5 separate regions of the Homo sapiens genome follow, and all the other regions are linked to region 2. The links are contacts of gene promoters, found by promoter capture Hi-C in blood cells and fetal thymus (Javierre and others, 2016). All regions are on one chromosome and are shown on one strand. The core of a region is centred on a gene start or on the middle of the fragment in contact, and the rest is flanking DNA. Distances in the headings are between cores, read along the strand shown. Region 1 overlaps FRMPD2 (FERM and PDZ domain containing 2). Region 2 holds the start of GPRIN2 (G protein regulated inducer of neurite outgrowth 2). Region 3 overlaps FRMPD2 (FERM and PDZ domain containing 2). Region 4 has its middle 74 kb from the start of OR13A1. Region 5 holds the start of LOC105378283 (a long non-coding RNA gene).

Evidence for each region. Contacts are between HindIII fragments. The CHiCAGO score rates a contact against its expected background, and 5 or more counts as called.
Region 1: a contact is called between a fragment that was not itself captured here and the fragment with the promoter of GPRIN2 in region 2, in 1 of 17 cell types (erythroblasts). The highest score is 13.6, in erythroblasts.
Region 3: a contact is called between a fragment that was not itself captured here and the fragment with the promoter of GPRIN2 in region 2, in 1 of 17 cell types (erythroblasts). The highest score is 6.1, in erythroblasts.
Region 4: a fragment that was not itself captured here is called in contact with the fragment with the promoter of GPRIN2 in region 2 in 1 of 17 cell types (total B cells); the score reaches 6.8 in total B cells.
Region 5: a fragment that was not itself captured here is called in contact with the fragment with the promoter of GPRIN2 in region 2 in 1 of 17 cell types (total B cells); the score reaches 6.8 in total B cells.

What each region holds. Positions count from the first base shown.
Region 1 is chr10:48,225,865-48,228,604 of GRCh38, reverse strand. All of the region lies in intron 10 of FRMPD2 (FERM and PDZ domain containing 2), which reads left to right. Among named protein-coding and RNA genes, the nearest start is that of FRMPD2, 47 kb to the left of the region's middle. The HindIII fragment of the contact is 2,146 bases long and covers 319-2,464 here.
Region 2 is chr10:46,555,408-46,558,179 of GRCh38, reverse strand. GPRIN2 (G protein regulated inducer of neurite outgrowth 2) reads left to right here and starts at 1,522. Exons shown (of 3, transcript NM_001385282.1): 1 at 1,522-1,682. RefSeq lists enhancers at 75-780, 1,486-2,191. The HindIII fragment of the contact is 15,777 bases long and covers 1-2,772 here.
Region 3 is chr10:48,250,769-48,253,468 of GRCh38, reverse strand. FRMPD2 (FERM and PDZ domain containing 2) reads left to right here. Exons shown (of 29, transcript NM_001018071.4): 2 at 1,778-1,903. Among named protein-coding and RNA genes, the nearest start is that of FRMPD2, 23 kb to the left of the region's middle. The HindIII fragment of the contact is 1,198 bases long and covers 757-1,954 here.
Region 4 is chr10:45,239,890-45,242,589 of GRCh38, reverse strand. It overlaps the pseudogene CUBNP2. Among named protein-coding and RNA genes, the nearest start is that of OR13A1, 74 kb to the left of the region's middle. The HindIII fragment of the contact is 863 bases long and covers 955-1,817 here.
Region 5 is chr10:45,222,506-45,225,205 of GRCh38, reverse strand. LOC105378283 (a long non-coding RNA gene) reads left to right here and starts at 696. Exons shown (of 6, transcript XR_001747443.2): 1 at 696-887. The HindIII fragment of the contact is 3,272 bases long and covers 1-2,700 here.

The DNA of each region.
Region 1 (2,740 bases), core at 142-2,641, 1.7 Mb before region 2:
GTGAAAACATTATTTTATAACACCTAGAAATATATGCTTCCTCATAGCACATTTTTTCAGTGTAGAATAGAGCATTTTAATTAACAGACCCAAATATCTTTTGTTCCTCTACAATGAGGAGACAAAAGTATATAAGCTTAAACTTATGTTCAACAACTAATATTTCAGCATAATATCTTATTTGGAAGTGGTCTATTAAATGAATATTCATCATTTCATTTAACTTACTATAACTGTAATGTTTTAAGTAACCAAAAAGATTTTATAAACCATTTTAAGTAGATATATCTTATAAAACATAATCATTGTTGAAAAGCTTACTTATACTCTATTTCATTTATATTTACATTTATTAATTCACTTGGTTTTAACAATTATGTTTGAATTGTTTATAAAAACTCCATAAGACATGAAACAAATGTAGTCATTATCTTACGTTATTTTTATTGTTAGTAAATCAGGCAAGTATTAAAAAATACCACAGAAGCAAAGAACCTAAAAGTTAAAACATATGGCTTTTTTTAACTCTCTTTTTTCATTGTCACATTTGTCTCACATCAAGCAATTTATTTTTACTGTATGTTTTATTCTTAGGTTACATTTACAATTTTACCATCTTAAACATACATACGCTTTTGCTTGATAAATCCAGATAGAAGAAGTCGTATGTCTGTATTATGTTTAATGTTGACAAGTCTCCAAACATGACTATTTTAATTGAACCAAAAAACTTAAACTAGCTTCTATATTTACCAAAAATTATACCAGATCACCTGAACTCAAAAAACATTTAGGTTAGTTCTGTTTTTCTGAGAAAACAGTTAATTTATAAAAGTGTTTATTTTCTTCCTTCAAGCCAAATCTTCTCGCATGTACCAATAGGACAGTTGTTCATGATGAGGGCTCTCTAAAAATACTTTTAGATACAAAAGTCCAAATATCCAAAGGTATAACCACTTCAATTGTGACTCAAAGCCAATAAGCCTTTTATGTCTTAACCATGGATACGAGAGGCTTCCACAAAAAGAGCGTGAAAAATGCAGTACCCCCCTCGAGATCCAACATCTCTCCCAAAGACGAAAAACAAAGACCTTACTTGTTAACAAGGTAGTGGAGGTTGAAACAATTGAGACAAATTCCCCTGGGAGCTGGCACTCTGGGACAAGGAGATGCTTCATGTTTCAGACTCCTAGCCAGCTGGCTCGCCATCTGATGCAAACCTGACAGTCTCCACCACCCAGCTGGTGGAGACCAGAGAAGATATCCTCACTGGCTACAGAGCTCTTGAGACATAAAACAAGATGAAAGGAGAGTCTTATTGTAACTTTTATCCTTGTGGTAAATCACACAGAAGACAGAGATTAAAAAACAAAAAAAAAGAGCGATTTCTGTTAGAACCTAGAACCAAATTCACAAGAGTCACAATTCAGAGAACAACCTTACAAATGTTTTTCTCCTGCCAATTCAAATTTAGAAAAGAAGGGACAAGAAAAAATTTTTACCTTCTTCTCTTAGCTAGGCACTATCCATAGATATTTGGGAAAGCTGGCTTTGGAAAGAATCCCCCCACCTTTTGCAGGCTTTTGTCAGGCCTCTCAGCATCTCATCCATAGGCTGGAGTGAGTGGGGTGTCCAGCCTCTTAGGGTCCCATCCTCATTGCCAGAAACTGTAAGGAAGGAAAACTTCTACTTCCATCCTTTATCCTCACAGGCTCCAGCTGTGTCTGAGAAATAAACTAACATAAGAAAGATCAACAGGAGAAAAGCATAATAAATGTTTTATGTGGCATGGGAGCCCCCATAAGAAGATGAAGACTCCACCAAATTAGTTACTGGGTTGGACAAAAAACAGTTAATTGTGAAAATGGGACTAAATTATGAGGAGGCTTAAAAGATCAGAGTTATTCCAACAAGGTCTGTATGGTATTCTGTGTCTAAACTTCTTGTCCTTGAAGATAAGGATGTTGCCTTTCCTTCCAGGAGAGGGAGGATGACTATCACATGGGAATTTCATCTTCTTTAAGAAATAACACAAGGGTCAAAGTGGCCAATTTGCACCTGCTCTTAAAAGTGCGCTTAAAAGTGCCTTTAACTTAAATAGCTGATAGGCCCAAATGGCATATTTTAACTTCTTTATTCCACCCATCTAGAACTTCCCTAGAAGATTCACATATTAAAAAATGACTTGGTGGTCATGGAGAGAAGAATTAGATTAGTAGCTGAGCAGTTTGGAAAAAAGAGGAGTTCGGCTAGAGGAAGACAAAGAGGAGGAGGAATTGTAGATAGGGGAGGGAAGGTTCTGGAGACAAATGAGTCTCAGCTAGCTTTGAGATATTTGCATTAAGGCATTTTTGAGTCCTGAATGCGTTTTGAAGCCTCAAGATGCCAATTGAAATATGTGCCCCATTCAAACTGACCTTATAGCTGCAGTCTTCTAATTTTAATTCTAAGGAAAAAACAAGCTTGGGCAGTTCAAATGGTCTCCATCTGGCCATTGGAGCTCTAAATTATCTTTGGTATAATTTGTCCATAAGCTTAAAAATTCATGGGGTGAATTATGTTTGGAAAGTCTATGTGATGCCAATTTAAATTCTGTACACAAACAACCAACCCCAAAAGAGTACACATCAGAAAGGATGCCAAATCCCCTACAAAAGTGAAACCAAAAGAATACTCAGAAGAAGGACCATGTCCTTCAGACCTATAAAACCAGATCTCGAATCAAGTCAAAGCAAGCCAA
Region 2 (2,772 bases), core at 273-2,772:
TCCTTTAAGCAGGATCCCCCTACCAGGCAGTGTGTGATGGTGAGGCCCAAGCCTGGGGTCTGACGTCGACACCCCTGTGGGCATTTGGCCAAAGGCAGCCATCTGCCAGAATCTGAGAGCTGCTCTCAGACCTCGCTGGAGAGGGCTACCTGGGGCAGTCTGAGTCTCTCTGGGCAGACTGAGGTCCTTTGCTACCCAAACGGGGAGAATTAGAGATACTGTTGGCTCCTGGGCACTGGAAGGGAGGAACGCAGGCCTCTCAGCACAGGGCTGGGCCAACAAGTTGGGGGTCCCGGCACAGGGGACAACGGAGAAGTGCCAACATTGGGACCCAATTATGTGATACTGGGGCCCAGAGATAGTACAGGTGCCTCATACCACGTGGCCCTGGGTGGACAGCAGGAATCTATTGCGAGTGGCGGGAGGCCGGGGCTGCCTGTCCTGCGCCCTGAAGCTGGCCAGCGGTTGTGGAAACTGGGGGATATTGAGGGAACCGTAGGCCCAGGTCCTCAGCCTCATAGTGTGGAACCTGGCGATCCCAGGGCCTGGGCTGGCCCCCGGCGTCACGGGACCGGGAAGGCGCTGTGGTGCTGCGGGGAATTGCGGAGAAGAAGGCGGGCTCCAGTGGAGGTGGCTCATCCCCGCACGGTCACTGCCCTCGCCCGCTGTTGGGGTCCGCGGCTGGGAGACTGAAGGCCTCAAGTCGGGCTGGGTAGGGGCACGTGGGCAGGGAAAGGGGTGGTAGATTACCAGTCTTCAGGGGCGGGGCTGGAGATGCAACCCTAGGGAAGGAGTCTACCAGGCTGGGCTCTTGAGGGGCAATGGAGGGCTCCGGGGGCCAGGCCAGGCCAGGATCATGGAGTTCAAAGGACTGGAGTGAGGTTTGGGGTCCATGAGAGTGGAGCTCAGAGGATGGGACGGTGGGTCCAGGATTTGGGACCTGGGGCTGGAAAGTCCGAGGCTAGTGGAGACCAGGCCTGGTATCCCAGACGAAAGGGCCCTATAGGAAACGGGGTCTCGTGGGCGGGATCTGGAGCCAGAGAATTGTGAGAGGCGGAGCTAGGATGGAGAAGGCGAGAGGAAAGGGGTAGCCGCCGGCGCGGAGACCTCAATGCGGGGCGTGGTGCGGAGGGGGAACTGGAGCGAGGGGCACTGGAGCGAGGGGGTGGGGCTACGAGGAGGTGGACTTGAGGGGCTGGGTCTGGGGCCGGAGAATCGTGGGGAGCTGCGCCTATACACCCGGGACGGTGGGGTTGCGTCGGGGAAGTGGGAGTCTTGGGGGTTCGCTGGGCAGCCTGGAGAACAGGCGGTCGTGGTGCGGGCGGGGCCGAAAAGACCGAGGACAGTGGGGACCCGGCCTGAGGAGGGGTCGGGAAGGAGGGGTGGGGGCGCGCGGACGCAGATCCCGGGCCGCGGCGGGGCGGTGGCAGGCTCCAGAGTGGCACGGGCCCAGGTGAGCGAGGTCTCCGCCCGCCGCCCCTCCCGCCGCCCCGGTGCCAGCTGCCCCGCTGGCCCCTCCCTGTACCCGGCGCTTGCTCCGCGGGCCGGGCCGACGGCGGCGGGCGGCGTCTCGCGCCCAGGCCAGGTCGGCTCTGGCTCCATCTTGGGCCGCGGCACCTGGCACCTGTGGCGGCCGCAGGAGCAGCGCTTCCCCCGCCTGCGCGGCCCCGGCGGGCGAGAGGGTGAGAGGCTGGCTCCGCGCGCTCCCGTTGGGGCGGGGGGCGTGGTGGGCGGCACCTCCCCCTTGCTGAGCCTCAGAACCCACTCCTTCCCGCTGCCTGCGCTCAGACCCCCGGCATCCTGGCCCCTGCCCAGCGCCCAGAGCCCCCGGTGGCCGCATCGCACTCCCCGCGCTCCGCCTCTCATTGTCCTGTCCTGTCCCCTCTTCTACGTCTCCTCTGCCCATCCTCCCATTTTCACAAGTCTGTCCGGGACCCTGTCTCCTTCGGCCTCCACCCCTGCTGCCATCGCTCCTCCCTCTCCCCTTCTTCCTTTTCCCCTCCCTCAGCCTACTGCGCCGCCTACCCCGCCCCCAGCCTTGCTGCCCTTTGGCTTCTCCTGTCCCGCATCATTACCCCGGCCCACAGCCCCATTTGCCTGCAGTCGCTGCCTTTGCTCCTGAGAAGGTCTGTAGCCTCGTTTCGGGCCCGTATTGAGCCCCCTTCTCCCTAAGTCCGGGTGGGCTTTGTGCAGGAGGGGCGGGAGGGGAGCTATTCTGGGCGAGGCTGCGTGGTGCGGTGCTTTCAGGCCTTTGGCCCCGCAGCAGGGGCGGCCTGTGCTTGGCGTGCAGAGTGCAGCTGGGTAGACGCTGTTACTGCATACGGGCCTGTGTGTCCCAGGCTGGGGCATGAGTGCTTGTGAGCGTGCAGATAGGGACACACCGGCCGCCTAGGCTGCTTCTAGGCCGGGGCACCCTCTCCACCTAGGTGCCCCCCAGGGATTGTGGGCAAATCCTCCCCAGGGGAGGAAGCTCAGGGGCTGTTGGGCGCCTAGGCCTCTTCCTGGTGAGCAGAGCCTCATCCATGGGGCCACTGACCCCACAGTTACCCCAGAACCCTTTCCTGGCACAGCTTGTGACCCGGGGCATGTAGCCCTTAAGGCACGTTCATTGTGAAGGGCAGGTTTTGTCTCCTCCAAACCCTCCCTTTAGGAATGCTGCCTGCTGCTTTGCCCAGAGTTGGCCCTGAGTGTTCCTATCAGGCCCCGTTCACTCTGGGGTGGATTAAACCACCTCCTGGAGGGTGCTGTATCCCCACTGTGCAATGGGGGTTT
Region 3 (2,700 bases), core at 106-2,605, 1.7 Mb before region 2:
CCATACGTCATCCAACTGCCTTTTGGTCTCCATGGTTTTTGATGAGAAATCAGCTGTTCATTTTATTGGGCAGTCCTTGTTTGTGATGAGTCCTAAATATTTTCTCCCATTTTCCTCCATGAAAGTTTATAGTTTTATGTTCTATATTAAATCTATGATTCATTTTGAAGTAATTTTTGCATAAGGTGCAAGGTTTAGGACCATGTTCAGCTTTTTTCCATGATGGATCCAGAACTATTTGTTGAAAAGTTTGTCCTCCCTCCATTGAATTATTGTACTGAAATAATGGTCTTCACTATCCACACCAGCCTAGAAGACTTTTAATGCATTTTTGTCTAGTCATAAAGCAATTTAAAAAACCCCACCCATTCAATATTTTATTTTGGGATTTAGAGATTTTTTGTATAAGAATCATGGTCTTCTTCTTCCCCCTTCTTATCTTTAATAAGCAACCTTTCACTGTGGCTATAGAGAGTTAGAAAAATGTGGTGGAATAGGAATGCCTAGTCCATAAGTCTCAAACAGTTTCTAAAGAGAGAGGAGAGATAAAAAAACGAAAGAAAAGGAAAGGAAAAGGAAGGAAAGGAAAGAAAAAAGAAAAGAAATAGAAAAGAAAAAGAGAGAGGGCCTGGAGTTCAGCTTCTAATTCATCACTTTTTACTTGATTACCTTGGACTTATTTCCTGTCTGTAAATGGAAACAATACTCCCTTCTTCACAGACTCCTTGTGATAAGTGACGGCTCACAGGTCAAGCTTTCTGAGGGGGTCCTGCTGCGGCTCCCTTTCTGCCCCAGGGAGAGGTAGCAGACCAAGCCTCTTTCTCCTGAAACCAGCCTCTCTTCCTGAGGCTGGAGGAGGCTGGTAGCAGAGGTGTCTGCAGGGAGCTGGGCAGCTGGGGAGTAGATCTTGGATTAGTGTGTCAATGGGGGATGGGGGTGCCTCTATGTGCTCCCCATCTAGCGCCCGACACTGCACACCCGCCCTGCTTGAGCTCTGGCTGTAGAGAAAGATCAGTGAGGATGTAAATGGATTAGGAAAAGCCCGCCTGGCTTCTTCCGGTGCCACTCAGCACCTGGGTCTCTGGAGATTAGTGGGTGGCAGCTTTGTCAGGGAGATAGACATTTAAACATCAGCTTTGGTCTAAAGGCCCTGCTTACCAGAAGAGAGGGAAGAGAAGACTAGCCCTCTTGAGCCTCCTCCAGTTTATCTGTGAGGCTGCCCCTTTCTGAAACATGGGGCTTATACTTCTGTCTAGTGAGTCGCTCTGGCACTTCAGGCAGGTGCTGGAGAAAGGGGTGGTACTGGCACCAAATCTGACTCTACATGTGGCAGCCAGAGATGAAAGATGTGAATCACGTACTGCAGGCAAAAATGTTAGCTAACTTCTCCAGAGAGAGAAGGAGAGGAGGCCACACACTACCCAGGTGTAGGTTACTCTCTGCAACAGCTCGCACCCAGCTGGGAGGTGCTGTTCTCATGTTTCATTTGGTTGTTCATTTATTTATTCATTTAACCTTTCATTTGGGAGTTTTATTGTTTGTTTACTCATTCACTGAGAACCGACCAGCCAACCTGGTCAGTCCTCCAATTAACATTTCTTTAACTCCTCTGTGTGCTTGGCTCTGTGCCTGACCCCAGGGACCCAGGTGCTGAAAACACAGTGCCGGTGTGCAGTAGTGGCCAGACCATGCCTGGCTGCACCAGAGTGGCGAGTACGGGCCCGGACATGTTCCTGGACATTGCAGAGGCCCTGTCACATGCATGTCTTTATTGTAGGCATGAGCCTGTCCTCTGTGACGCTGGCCAGCGCCCTACAGGTCAGGGGTGAAGCTCTGTCTGAGGAGGAAATCTGGTCCCTCCTGTTCCTGGCCGCTGAGCAGCTCCTGGAAGACCTCCGCAACGGTAAGAGAGTGTTTGGGGGCAGTCAAATCACAGGGAGTTGTATGTGAAGCTTCCCACACAAACACAGTTCTGGCTGCTGCTGCTTTTTTAAATCAACCTCTGAGAGCACAGAACAAGGTTGCTGCTGCTTGATCTGTGATTACTCTGAGGTATTAGAATGAGTAGAAGAATAGCACCTATCCTTGGAGCTGCACTGGGAGGGCAGGCCTGACTCTTGGACCCATGCCATGTGGCAGAGTCAAAAGAAAGGCTTTGCTTCTGCCTTGGTGTTGCAGCATTTCCAGGCATGCAAAGCTGGGAGGATTTAGGAAGAGAGTGGCTGCAGTGCTATGGGTGTCTAACAGCACATGGGCTGTCTCTGGGCATAACCAGAGATGAGAGGCAGGGTGTGGTCACCCAGGACACCCCTACACTCTGTCCACCAGATGTTGCACTAGTCTGTGCCCCATCAGAAGGCAGACCTGGCTGGGCACGGTGGCTCACACCTGTAATCCCAGCACTTTGGGAGGCCAAGGTGGGCAGATTACCTGAGGTCAGGGGTTTGGGACCAGCCTGGCCAACATGGTGAAACTCCATCTCTATTAAAAATACAAAAAAAAAAATTTGCCAGGTATGGTTGCGCTCGCCTGTAATCTCAGCTACTCGGGAGGCGGAGACAGGAGAATTTCCTGAACCCAGGAGGCAGAGGTTGTAGTGAGCCAAGATTGTGCCACTGCCCTCCAGCCTGGGCAACAGAGCAAGACTCATCTCAAAAAAAAAAAAAAAAAAAAGGCAGACCTACTCTGTGTTCTAAACAG
Region 4 (2,700 bases), core at 137-2,636, 1.3 Mb after region 2:
AAATGAAAGCTGCCTTTGGTTAAACAAACAAAAGTACTTTAGATTTTTTTTACAAAAAAAAAGGTAAAGAACGATTTCCCACAAATAACTCACAAATGGATTTAAAATCCTTGCGCAAAACTCTGTCTTGGAGGTAGTGTCCTTGTCTAAAAGAGAGTCTGAATGCTAGCCACTTCACCTCAATGTGATCAGAAAAGTTCAAAGGATCCTCGAGTATTCGTCTTTAAAGGAGAAGGCTCCTGTGTCATGCTTCCTGTAGGGGTGTTTGTGTGAATGAGCTGCTGCATTGCATGTGTGTGTGCTGCTTGAAATTCACTTCACTGCTCAGGGTCTCAATTATCTCAAAGGTAAACGAAGAAGCTGGATTACCTTTTTCTAAAGTTTGTTCACATATAATGATCTTTTTGAATTATTCCTGCGAAGTTGAAAGAGCACTGAACGCTGGAATGCATACATTAATTATGCATATTTTTCTCCTAAGATTGCAACAGAGACTATCACAAGGCATTTGGCAACCTGAGGAGTACTGGATGGCCAGATAACTACGACAGTGACATGGATTGCACCATTACTCTCACAGCCCCCCACAACCACACCCTCTTTTTTCATTTGTTTGGCATTGAGAACTCAATTGAATGCAGAAACGATTTCTTGGAGGTAATATGCATTTGAATATCATTTAAATGATGATGGATTTTACACCTTTTCTTTAGTGCTTCTAATGCTCTATGATTCTTACTTGTTTCATTAATTTATTCATTACCCTTTCATTCCCTAAACATTTACAGAGCACCAGTCCAAACACCGGAAATTGGGAACCTCAGGGCCCTCGGAAGACTCCTAGTCTGGTGGAAAGGACAGATGGGGTATAGCCAATTACAGCACAATGTGGAAAGGACTAACTGAGTCCAGCAGGGGTAGGGGTTCCTAACTCAGTCTGGGAACTAGAAAGCTTCTTTAAGAGGGCAATATGTAAGTTGAGACCTAAAAGGATCAGAGGAAAGTCTAAGAACAACAAGCTGATTCTGTAAAATGAAACTGAATGATACTAAATAGCTCACCTAATTTCCCTGACAGCTACAGTAAGTTTGGGGCATCGTCAACATCCTCTAAAGACAAGTGTTGCCTTGAAAAAGTGCTCCCTTGTTGCAGGAAGTGTGGTCTGTCCTTTTTCCACCACAACTCCAGAGCTCTCATTTGGACACAGAAGTGACTTTGCTGTTTGCCCATTCTCCACCCATTCACCCCCAACTCCCACCCCAGGACACACTGAGAGAGAAGCCCCCCTTGCACCTGGAGCAGGCAGAGCCATGCCCCTTGTGGGCCTGAACCTTTGGGGTCTTCCAGAGCCCCTGGTGAGCTCCCTCTGTGCTCTTTCTGCCACATCACCTGCATTGAGCATGTGAGATGGAACATGAATATCATTGCTCATAGGCAGGAAACGGTCTGAATAAGACTCATCTGATGCGGACCCAGTGTGTGGAACTCAGCACCTGTGTTTTGCCAGAAAACCCCCCAGAGCTCATGCGGTTGTGACCTTTGCAAGCTCTGTTGAAAATGCATTCATCCTTAGGAAATAAACTCAGGTGGAACCTGAGACTCAAAAGGATAAGGATGCTGAATTCCTCTGAGAGTGGAATTTAAATCTAAACCTCATCCCGATGCTCTCTAAACTGGCTTTGTTTCACCATACAAGAGGCTTCAGTAAGGTTTCCAAAAAGTTTGCTTGTTCCTCTACACCTGATCTGGAGTCGTATTTTTTGTTTTATTTTTTTTTCTCACTGCCTCTTTGATCAGGTCTTCATTCAAAATAAGCTTCCCAAGATGATTTGATCTTTGTAGCATAAACAAATGTACTGGTGTATGCAGCAGGCTTCTTTCCTTCTGTGGGAGGATTCTTTCCAGTGGGCTTCTGTTCAGCTGCTAGTTTCTTGGTAGCTGCAGCCTTTGTTCCCAACAAAACATCTTTTCTCACCTGCAACCCACCTCATCTGATTTGGCTTCTAGGGCTGCTGTCACCTTCTGCCCGGCCTGGTGAGGAAGGGTGTTCTGGCACATGGTCTTTGCCTATGGGTTTAGCTTCAACATGATTCTTGATGCAGTTTTATCATCCTGGAAAGCTCTCCCCTTTGGAATTCATCTAAATCCTTTATTAATCAATAGCCTTAACATGTAGTTTCATAAATAACACTCAGAGGAAGCTCATGCCTTTTCTAAAGGAATATTCCCATGACAGGAAACCAAAAGATGTATGTAGCAGGGAGGAAACGAAGAGACAAATACAGTATTCTTTGTGCCGGTCAGGTTACTCAACTTGGACCTACGTACCTCCCCCACCACGGAGATCCATATATTTATATGAAGTGTAAAGCAGAAAGAATGAGGAGAGTGGGATCTGGATGAAAGATGGAATAATCCCGTTAGGTTGGAGTCACAGTGCAACTAACTCTTAACTCACTCCAGCTTGAATGGACCATTATTGATCAGAGTCAACATTTGCCATTTGCCTGATAGATGCTGGGAAGCAAAGCCTTGCTTTCCAGCCATGGACAGTAAGAACTCTTCCTCCTCGCTGTCCTTCATTACTCCGTAGAATGGATCTGAAACTTCCTGTCCCATAAGCAAAGAAAGGAAACCACAGCTTAGGCCTGTAAAATGTAGCTCCGTCTGGCTCTCGGTGGGAAGACTGTGGGCATAGTT
Region 5 (2,700 bases), core at 159-2,658, 1.3 Mb after region 2:
TGGTTGCTTTTGGAAGAGAAAGCGGGAGGTTCCTGGGAGCCAGAATGTTATGTTTCACAGATGTAAAAGTCATAGTCGGGAAAGACATCGCTTTAGTGGTGTTTTCAAATGACCTTTAAATGGTAGGGTTTTACTTGTAGCTTCCAGCCCTGAGGGTGGTTCTTGTTGCTTAAGGGCAAAAGGGTCAGGGGTAAAAGCCAGCCTTAGAAACCTGTCAAAAAAGATTTCCAGCGGGGCGCTGGAGAAACGTAGACCACGCCAGAATTCCTGTCTGGAGAAGCTCTTCATAGGGCGAGAGGCTGCGTGCCCCACAAGGTCCTTCAGAGGCACATTGTGGGACTCAGGGTAGCAACTTCTGGCGAGTGGAGCCGCAGTTACAGAAGCGAAACATTCGAAGGCAATTTACTTCCAGCTTTCGCAACACCCACCCTCAGCCATTACCCTCCCTTGCGCAGTCGCGCCATAAACTTCTCTGCTTTCCCCCACAGCCCTCTGGGCTTCGACCCATCAACTGAACACGCGCCAAACATCGCGCGCACGCGCCAAGCTCGGCCCAATCAGAGTTCCAAACCGCGGAGTGTTCGCCACGGCGATAAATTAACCTCAGCGTGGCGCGGGGTCTCGAAGCCGAATAACGTACGTGATTGGCCAGCCTCTTCCATATTCTTTTAAGGGCGGAACCTGGCCCTGGAGCCACGCCTAGCGAGCTGTTCTCTTAATATGGGTAGGTTCGGGCGTGGAGCTGGCAGCTGCGCGGTGTGCCGAGACAGGGCGTGTTAGTTATTTAGTGCAGGTGTAGCAGGGAACGAGGGCATCTGTCGCAGCCGGAGTGCGTCCTGCCGAAGCCTGTGGTTGCACGCCCACCCTCTTAGGGGCTGCCCTCTGCGGTGAGTGTGTGCGGCGTCGCACTTGGGGTTGCTTCTCTCTGCGTGGCCGGACCGGGGCTGGACCCTTCCCAGTCCCCTGCCCTGCCCCATCCCCTCCCTGCACCCGGACGCCCTTCAGGCTGACGTGGCTTTGGTTTAAACCCTCTCCACACTTTTCCAGGTTGTCCGTTACCGACTGTAATGCTCCAGGTTTCTAGGCGTGATGCACAAGGCCTTTCCGAATCTGAACACTACCTTACCCTTCCATGCAGTTGGCATTTCAGCCATTCTGAATTTATTGTCCTTTCTGGACCGGAGCCTACTTGTTCAGATCTTGGTGCTTTTACGAATTCTGTTTTCTCTCACCCTCAGTCTTTTTCACCTGAAATCGTTTTACTTCTAAGAGTCAGCTTAGACATCACCACCTGTGTAAAATCTTCTCTGTCTGCACCAAGCTAACATAGCCACTCCCTGCCCTGTGAAGTTGGACGTGTGCCTTGTTTTGTGACTTCTGTCACGTAGGATTGTAATGATTTTTTTTTTTTTTAATCTAGAAGTCTCCCTTCTCCACTGGGACATTGGGAAGACAAAAGCAGTGCAATGTTCATGCTTGCATTTTTTTTTTTTATAATAGTGCCTGGAGCACAGTAGATGCTCAAAAATAGTTTGAGGAATGAAAAAAAATGAAAGAATGATGGATTAGGCCCATGAGTGTGTGAGATCACGTCCAGGATGTGACGAGAGAAGAAGGGAGATGTTCAGGAGACCCTGAAAGGTGATGGAAAGCCATTGAGACATGGAAAGAATGGCAGAGTCAGGTTTACTGTGAAGCCATGCTTTTCCCGGTTTGAAAACCTGCCTGGGATAGAGATTGGAGTTGATGCCATTAATACGTCTTGGCAGAAGGAAAAGGGAGGAAATGTAGTTGATTTGCGTTTCATAGCCTTTATGAAAATACGTGCCATTAAACTTAGGTTGTGTACTAGTTAGCTTCTCAGCCTTGGTGTGTGTTGGTCTCTTGCATTCCGTAAGGGTCCTCGCTGTCAGCAACAGAACAGATGCCTCTGGAACTGAAGATCTAGGTGTGTCCCTTGCTGCCCCTGCCCAGCTCTGCCATGATCATGGTCATTATTGGGAGCACTGTTGATACAGAGGAGAAAGAGAAGGGGATAGGGAAGATGATGCCTGGCATAGCGGGACCCTTGGCCCCCATGGCTTTCCTCCCTCCAGCACTCGTTCTCACTGGGTAGAAGAGAGAGGCTGCTTTCAGCAGAGGAGCTTTATACCCTTCAGCTTTTGAAGAGGAGACTTTATGTGATATTTATAAATGGGGAGAATGGCTTAGCTATTTCGGTTGAGCTCTATTATCTCTTTGAAGCCATTGCTTTTATTAGGGAAGAAAAGATAGCCACTTGCTTCCTGAAGTAAATTTCAGTATTGGGTACTGAAAAGCAAGATCATTCTTAAATTTTCCTAAAGAAGAAGCTAATGAAGAATAATAGTGCTTTTTGGGAAGCTGGGTGGAAGTGAATTTGGAGATGTCAAGAGTCCACTTCCTCTGGCTTCTGTAACATTGACCCAAGGCTGCTCTCTGCAAACTCCCTGACCTCGGGACTCCTCGGAGCCTACGGGGTTCCAGGATGCTCTTCGGAGCCTCCACTAGGGCTCAGTTCTCAGCAGTGCACACACAGTGACACAGTGCTTAATATATACAAGTATTAAAATATTTCACTTGGCTACATTAATTATAAGTGTAATTTTTTTTTTTTCCTGAAAACAGGGTCTCGCTCTGTCACCCTGGCTGGAATGCAATGGTGCATTCACAGCTCACTGT